Regions from separate parts of the Homo sapiens genome. Here region 1 is linked to region 2. The links are contacts of gene promoters, found by promoter capture Hi-C in blood cells and fetal thymus (Javierre and others, 2016). All regions are on one chromosome and are shown on one strand. The core of a region is centred on a gene start or on the middle of the fragment in contact, and the rest is flanking DNA. Distances in the headings are between cores, read along the strand shown.

The links. The method cuts DNA at HindIII sites, captures the fragments that hold promoters and counts their contacts. A CHiCAGO score of 5 or more calls a contact.
Region 1: a contact is called between a fragment that was not itself captured here and the fragment with the promoter of CEP72 in region 2, in 2 of 17 cell types (M2 macrophages and naive B cells). The highest score is 6.9, in M2 macrophages.

Annotation. Positions count from the first base shown.
Region 1 is chr5:452,931-456,410 of GRCh38, forward strand. EXOC3 (exocyst complex component 3) reads left to right here. Exons shown (of 13, transcript NM_007277.5): 4 at 440-1,121. Among named protein-coding and RNA genes, the nearest start is that of EXOC3, 11 kb to the left of the region's middle. The HindIII fragment of the contact is 5,460 bases long and covers 1-3,480 here.
Region 2 is chr5:611,057-614,831 of GRCh38, forward strand. CEP72 (centrosomal protein 72) reads left to right here and starts at 1,284. Exons shown (of 12, transcript NM_018140.4): 1 at 1,284-1,387. The coding sequence starts at 1,306. It overlaps CEP72-DT (CEP72 divergent transcript), which reads right to left and starts at 1,154. Exons shown (of 3, transcript NR_103444.1): 1 at 1,096-1,154; 2 at 391-697. RefSeq lists enhancers at 207-1,137, 1,138-2,067. The HindIII fragment of the contact is 7,839 bases long and covers 1-1,977 here.

The sequences.
Region 1 (3,480 bases), core at 303-2,802, 160 kb before region 2:
GTGAACAGGGGAAGATGCAACAGTGGCCACTTACCTCTTCGCACCTCTGTGGTCAGAAGCAGCAGTCAGTGATCTGAGTACAGATCTCCGGTGTGGAGGACAGGGTTCTTTTTGCCCAGCCAGGCTGCAGGCTGTGTGCAGGCAGCTTTAGGAACACATCAGCACATGCACAGCTGCCTGCGGGGTGGGAGGTGGGGCCTCGGTAGCCACTGCCCAGCTGAGAGCTGCAAATGACCACAGTTAACCACAGTTTACCATTTATGCCTTTAATAGACTCCAGAGTTCCAAAGATAGTTACCTCAGACACATCCTGCCATTGCAGTTGTTGTTAGCTAGGGAGATGTGGCTTCCTGCTCTGCCGTGTTCCCAGAACACCGCATGCAGGCAGCCTTTTATGTGGTGGTGGTTGTTTATGTTGTGTCTTGTGCCTTCTCCCTAGTGCCTGAGATTGTGAGGGAGACCCAGGACCTAATTGAACAAGGGGCACTCCTGCAAGCCCACCGGAAGCTGATGGACCTGGAGTGCTCCCGGGACGGGCTGATGTACGAGCAGTACCGCATGGACAGTGGGAACACGCGTGACATGACCCTCATCCATGGCTACTTTGGCAGCACGCAGGGGCTCTCTGATGAGCTGGCTAAGCAGCTGTGGATGGTGCTGCAGAGGTCACTGGTCACTGTCCGCCGTGACCCCACCTTGCTGGTCTCAGTTGTCAGGATCATTGAAAGGGAAGAGAAAATTGACAGGCGCATACTTGACCGGAAAAAGCAAACTGGCTTTGTTCCTCCTGGGAGGCCCAAGAATTGGAAGGAGAAAATGTTCACCATCTTGGAGAGGACTGTGACCACCAGAATTGAGGGCACACAGGCAGATACCAGAGAGTCTGACAAGATGTGGCTTGTCCGCCACCTGGAAATTATAAGGAAGTACGTCCTGGATGACCTCATTGTCGCCAAAAACCTGATGGTTCAGTGCTTTCCTCCCCACTATGAGATCTTTAAGAACCTCCTGAACATGTACCACCAAGCCCTGAGCACGCGGATGCAGGACCTCGCATCGGAAGACCTGGAAGCCAATGAGATCGTGAGCCTCTTGACGTGGGTCTTAAACACCTACACAAGGTAAAGCTAACCTGGCGCCTGTGTTGGCTCTTAGGTAGAAGCCGTGTGTGAGAGGGGCCTGCAGCTGCTTGCTGGAGAGCCGACCTCAGGGTGTTGCTCTGGGCAGGTGCTCCGAGCCCACAGCCTTGGTTTCCAGCCCAGGGGTGTCTTCTTTCTGCTCTGCCTGCTGGTGCCCAGCCTCTGGTGTTTGAACACTGTTGTGCTTGGGAGGGATCTCTGCTCTTGGCCTCCAGCCCCCGTTGAGCTTGACAGGGTGCAGCTCTGGGCTGGGCCTGTTTCCTGTGCTCACCGTGTGCTGACTTGCTTCCTTGCAGTGACACCCTGAGGCAGGTGTGTTGTTACCCCATTTTACAGGTGAGGACACATGGTCCCAGGCGGGGCTGGGACTGGCACATGGCCACCCCACTGGGGAGGAGACCACTACATCACCTCCCTGGCTTCCAGCATCCCGGGTTTGGTTTCTCTTCACCAATATCCTATAGCAGTGAGTCTTTCAAAAATAAACAGTTACAAGTCTAGATAGTTCGAGGAAACTCCATCATCCTTTTTGTATCCTAGTACGAGGTTTTGTCACTTCACTTAAGGGACCATGAACCACTCTGTGCGTGGATTAATTTGAAGTAGTGTTGAAAAATGGTGCAGTGGTGGGGGTATTCTGAAATTCTTTAAGATTAGGTAGCCGAAATGAAAATTTATTTCAATTTTCCATGGTTTCATGGTTAGAAAATAATATTAAGTAATGTATTGGAATTTCTTCTTCTTCTTTTTTTTCTTCCGCCCATCTTGTCACTGCAGTGGAGAAATTGAATAAACCTCATTTTTTTTTTTTTTTTTTTTAGCAGTAAGGCATATTTTTTTGTGTGCTTTGTTTACTGGTATCTGCTTATAGAGAATTTGCATTTCAATACAGAAGGACAGAAGAGAAAGGAAGCGCCCCCTGCAGAGAATGGTCACCGTGACGCTCTGTGCAATGGTGGCTCTCTGTGCAACCGTGGCGCTCTGTGCAACTGTGGCTCTCTGTGCACAGCCCTGGACTCACCTCCCCTGGCTGCCGCTCATCCTCATGGCCGCCCATTCTGTAGCCTTGACAGTGCAGGTCTCCCCCTCCGTGCCTGGTGTGTGTCAGCAGCCCATGAGGCAGGAGGCAGGGGACACGGCCAGTGAGTGGGAAGCTGGATTCCAGTCCCATCCCTGGGCCCTCCCGGGCCATGGCCACTAGGCTGGGCTGTGCATGTGTGCACCTTGCACAGTTTGTGTCTTGATTTTGTCTTTCCACGTTGTGAGTGTTTTTCTGTCCTTGGGGAGTCTCGTGAGTTCCATCACCCCGGCCTTTCTCAGGGGAGGTTGAAGTGCTCCACTAGAAACATTCTCACACGGAATTGAGGTTCTTGGGAAAAATAATCCAGATTAAATAAAAGTCTTTTAAAATGTGCAGAATTTTAGGAAGTACTTTTTCACTTAGGAAGCTCTCGGATTTCTTATAGTGGACTGGCTCTTAATCATTTTATTCAGTGTTACTCTGAGAACGTATTTACGGAACATAGCATGAGGCGTGTGAGTTGAAAGAATTTTCTGAGTGGTCAAACCTTAGACTTAAAAAAACTTTTTAATTTTAATTTTTGTGGGTACATAGTAGGTGTATCCCGGCTTCACGCCATTCTCCTGCCTCAGCCTCCCGAGTACCTGGGACTACAGGCGCGTGCCACCATGCCCCGCTAATTTTTTTGTATTTTTAATAGAGATGGGGTTTCACTGTGTTAGCCAGGATGGTCTCAATCTCCTGACCTCATGATCCGCCCGTCTCGGCTTCCCAAAGTGCTGGGATTACAGGCGTGAGCCACCATGCCCGGCTGATAATAACTTTCTAATGAAAACTTTTCCTGAAATGTAGCATGTGTTTCCTGTCTTCTGGACAGTAGACCTCACGTAGTTTTGCCTGTTCTTGCGGATGCGTTTTTATCAGTAATGTCCTGTATTGTACGTTCCAGTCATCACCGTCTGCAGAGCATATTGATGTGGACTGCAGTGGCTTGTTTCCAAAGGACAGCACAGCTGCCCCTCCATACTCAATGGGGAGGGATTCCAGGACCCCCCTTGGCTATCAAAATCCTCCGTAGCCCAAGTCCCCTTTATAAAAGGGTATAGTGTTTGCACGTAACCTGCGTACATTCTCCTTCATGCTCTAAATCATTTCTAGATTACTTATAAGACTAAATACAATGTGAATGCTATGGAAATAGTTGTTCTATATTTTTTGAAATTTTTATTATTTTTTATTGTTGTTTTTCCCAAATACTTTCAGTTTGTGTTTGGTTGAGTCAGTGGACGTGGCGCCCGTGGCTGTGGGGGCGGCTGTGCT
Region 2 (3,775 bases), core at 34-2,533:
ACTCCTTATGTACAGCACTGCACATACTCCCTGCAGAGACCCTGTGTGCATCCTCTGCACACACCCCTTCTGTATACTGTCTGCACACACCCCCTACATGTACACCCTCTGCACACTCCTCCTGCATACACCCCATGTACACCTTCTGCACACACTCCCTGAACACATTCTGAGTACACCTCCTGCACACCCCGTGTACAACCTCTGCACACACCCCCTACACACTCCCCTACACACTCCCCTACACCATCCACACACACTCCCTGCACACAGCCCCTGCACACATTCCCCATGTACACCCTCTGTCTGTGTATACCCTCGTCTACTACCACCATACGTACCCCCCACCACTACCCTGCCTTGTCTATCACCCCCCAGGCTGTGACATACCAGGGATGTTGCCAACGAGCTGGTCTAATCTGGGGTGAGGGTTTCTGGGTGCCCCTAGACACCAGGAGAAAGGCGGGGAGGGGACACCCCTGGGGGTCTGGATTCACTCCACCAGGCGCTGGGCCACAGTGGTACGGTGACACAGTAGATGTCTTGAGCAGGATTAAAGTCTTCCCAATAAACAGGCTGAACTCTGTCTTCCTTGAAAGCTCTGTAGAAGGACCTCACAAGGATAAACACAGCGAGACCCTCCAGGGCGCGGTCAGCCACGAGCCACAGTGCTGGGCCTGTGACATCTCTGGAGGTTCTGGGGTGGAGAAGGACCGGCCGTGGGGAGTGACTGGCTGGGGAGAAGCTCAGCTCCCGCCCACCTCTGGGAGGCCCGGGGCTGGACGGGAGGTGCAGCAGACAAGGCTCCGGGCGGGTGCTGGGGTGTCTGGAGGGGTCCCCGCGGGGGGGTCGGGTTGGGTGGGGAGTCTAGGTGAGTCGGGGGTCCCCGGGGGCGCTGGGTTCAGGGTGGGAGCGGAGTGTGGATGGGGCAGGGTCCCCATGCCCACCACCAGCCGCGATTCCACCGCGCCTACTCGGGGTTTCCCCGGGAGGACACCGCGTGTGTCAAGGGCCGGGGCCTAGAAGGCGGCCGCGCCCAGGGAAGCCTTGACAGGGAGCTATCTGGGGCGGGGGCTGGGGTCGCGTGGCCAGTACCTGGGAGAACCGCCATTCAGGAGAACCCCCCGCCAGGCTCTTGGTTCCGCCCACGCAGTCCCGCCCCCTCCCCCAGCCACGCCCCTCGCCCCGCCGCGCAGGCCCCGCCCCGTCCCGCCAGGCTCTCGGTTCTGCCGACGCAGGTCCCGCCCCTCTCGTAGCCTCGCCCCGCCCGCCGCGCAGGCGCCGTCCGAGGGCTCCGTTTGAAACATGGCGCGGGCTGGCCCTCGGCTGGTGCTGAGCGAGGAGGCGGTTCGGGCGAAGAGCGGCTTAGGGCCTCACCGCGACCTGGGTGCGCCGGAGGGCGGGCGGGGGTGCAAGCGTGAGGTGGCGGGGGGGTGGGTGCCGAGCTTCCCGGGGCGGCGGCGGACCGTGGGCAGGCGGGACCCGTCTACGCAGGCGCCGCGGGCGTCCGGAACGGTCGCGGGCGAGCGGGGCGCGCGTGTCCAGGTGAGCGACCCACCCCCCGTGCCCAGGTGCGGCCCCTGCCCGCGTTCGGGTCCCGGCGTCCCGGCCCCTGCCTGTCTATCGGGTCACTGGTTCCGTGACTGGGGGTTACATCCGCTGAGAAGAGGGAGCCGGCCTTGCTGTCCAGGAGCGCAGCCCGCCCTCCCGCTGGGGATCACCTCCCTGGTTCTCCTGGGCCCACTCTGTGGTGATTGTTGCGCTCGGCCTTCTTGAGGATGTTGGTGGCCGGTTTCCTTCTTTTTGGCTTATTTTTGTCTGGTTTTGGCGTCAAGGTGAAGCCGAGCTCATAAACTGCTGAGAAGTGTTGCCTTCTCTTATATTTAGAAGAGGTTCTGTAGAGTGTGTGCTCATTGTTTGAATGTTTCCTGGAATTTTCCAGTGAAACCATATGGACATGTCAATTTCTGTTTTTGAAGCTTTTAAATGACAAATTCTGTATCTCTGGTTGTTAGAGAACCGTTCATATTAGTTCACCGCGAGTCTTGGCTGTGTGGGGTTTTGTGGCATTGGCTTATTTGAGCTAACTTGTGGAGTGTGTGTGTTGAGTTGTTTCTGGTGTTCTGTTGTTAGCCTGTTAATGTCTGTGTGTGGTCTGCAGGTGTTACTGGACCAACAGGTTCAGTCAGGTGCTGTGGGGGCCACAGGCCAATACACTGAGACAGTGGGGTTTGCAGCAGAGAAAGAGTTTAAGGCTGGCAGGGGCCCAGCAGGGAGGTGGAAGGAGGCCTCAATCCATCTCCCCAAGGAGATCTGAGCGGTTTTTTTTTTTTAGACGGAGTCTCACTCTGTCGTCCAGGTTGGAGTGCAGTGGCACAATCTCAGCTCACTGCAACCTCCACCTCCCAGGTTCAAGTGATTCACTCAGCCTCCTGAGTAGCTGGGATTACAAGCACGCGCCACCATGCCCGGCTAATTTTTTATATTTTTAGTAGAGACGGGGTTTCACCATGTTGGCCAGGCTGGTCTTGAACTCCTGATCTCAGGTGATCCACCTGCCTTGGCCTCCCAAAGTGCTGGGATTACAGGCATGAGCCACCTACACCCAGCCTGAGCTGGGGGTTTTAGAGGAACAGGACTGTGAGGAGCTGGAAGATTGGTGTTGTCAGTTGGTGGAGGTAAGGGCCATGGAATTATCAGGGTGTGGAAACTGCATTCTTTGGTGAATCCGCTTGCGGGGCCCTTTAGACCAGCTGGCATCAGTCCCCAGGTCCTGAAAGAATATCTCAAATGGAAAACTTAACGGTTTATAATGTCCAGGTTATTATCTGTAGAGTGGTTAAGGGGAACTGTAACCTCGTGACAAAATCCAAGTGATCCTGAGGCAGTAGGCACCACAGGGCTCTGAGGAAGCAGGTGAGAGGGCAGCTGACCTCGGGACATGCCGAGTCCTCCCTTCTTCCCTGATTAGTGCTACAAGGTTTACAGGGATATCCCTTTTCTGTTCCTGATGTTGATAATCTGTGTATTCTTTCTTTTTTAGTCTTGCTAGAGGCTTGTGAATGTTATTGATAGTTTCAAAGAACCGACTTTGGGTTTGATTTTTCTCCAGTGTTTTTCTAGTTTCAAATTTCATTGATTTCTGCTTTTTTTTATTTCCTTCTTTCTGCTTGCTTTGCATTTATTTTATACTTTTCTAAATCCTTGAGGCAAAACTGTAGATTATTGATTTGAGACTTTCCTATTTTCTATTATAAACAGTGCCACAAGTTTCCCTGTAAGCACTGCTTTAGCTGTATCCACAAATTTTGTTATGTTGTATTTTAATTTTCATCCAGTTCAGCGTATTTTAAGAATTTCCCTCGATACTTCCTGTTTGACCTGTGAATTTTTTTTTTTTTTTTTTTTTTGAGGTGGAGTCTCGCTCTGTCACCCAGGCTGGAGTGCAGTGACGCAATCTTGGCTCATTGAAAGCTCTGCCTCCTGGGTTCATGCCATTCTCCTGCCTCAGCCTCCCGAGTAGCTGGAACTCCTGACCTCATGATCCGCCCACCTCGGCCTCCCAAAGTGCTGGGATTACAGGCATGATCCACCGCGCCCGGCCTGACCTGTGGATTTTTAAGGAGTATGTTTTTAACGTTCCATGTGTGGATATTTTCCTGTTATTTTTCTGTGTGATTCCATTATGGCCAGAACATAATCTGTATGATTTTAATTCTTTTAAATTTGTCAGGGTTTGTTTTATGATCCAGCATCTGGTCTATGTTGTTGAATG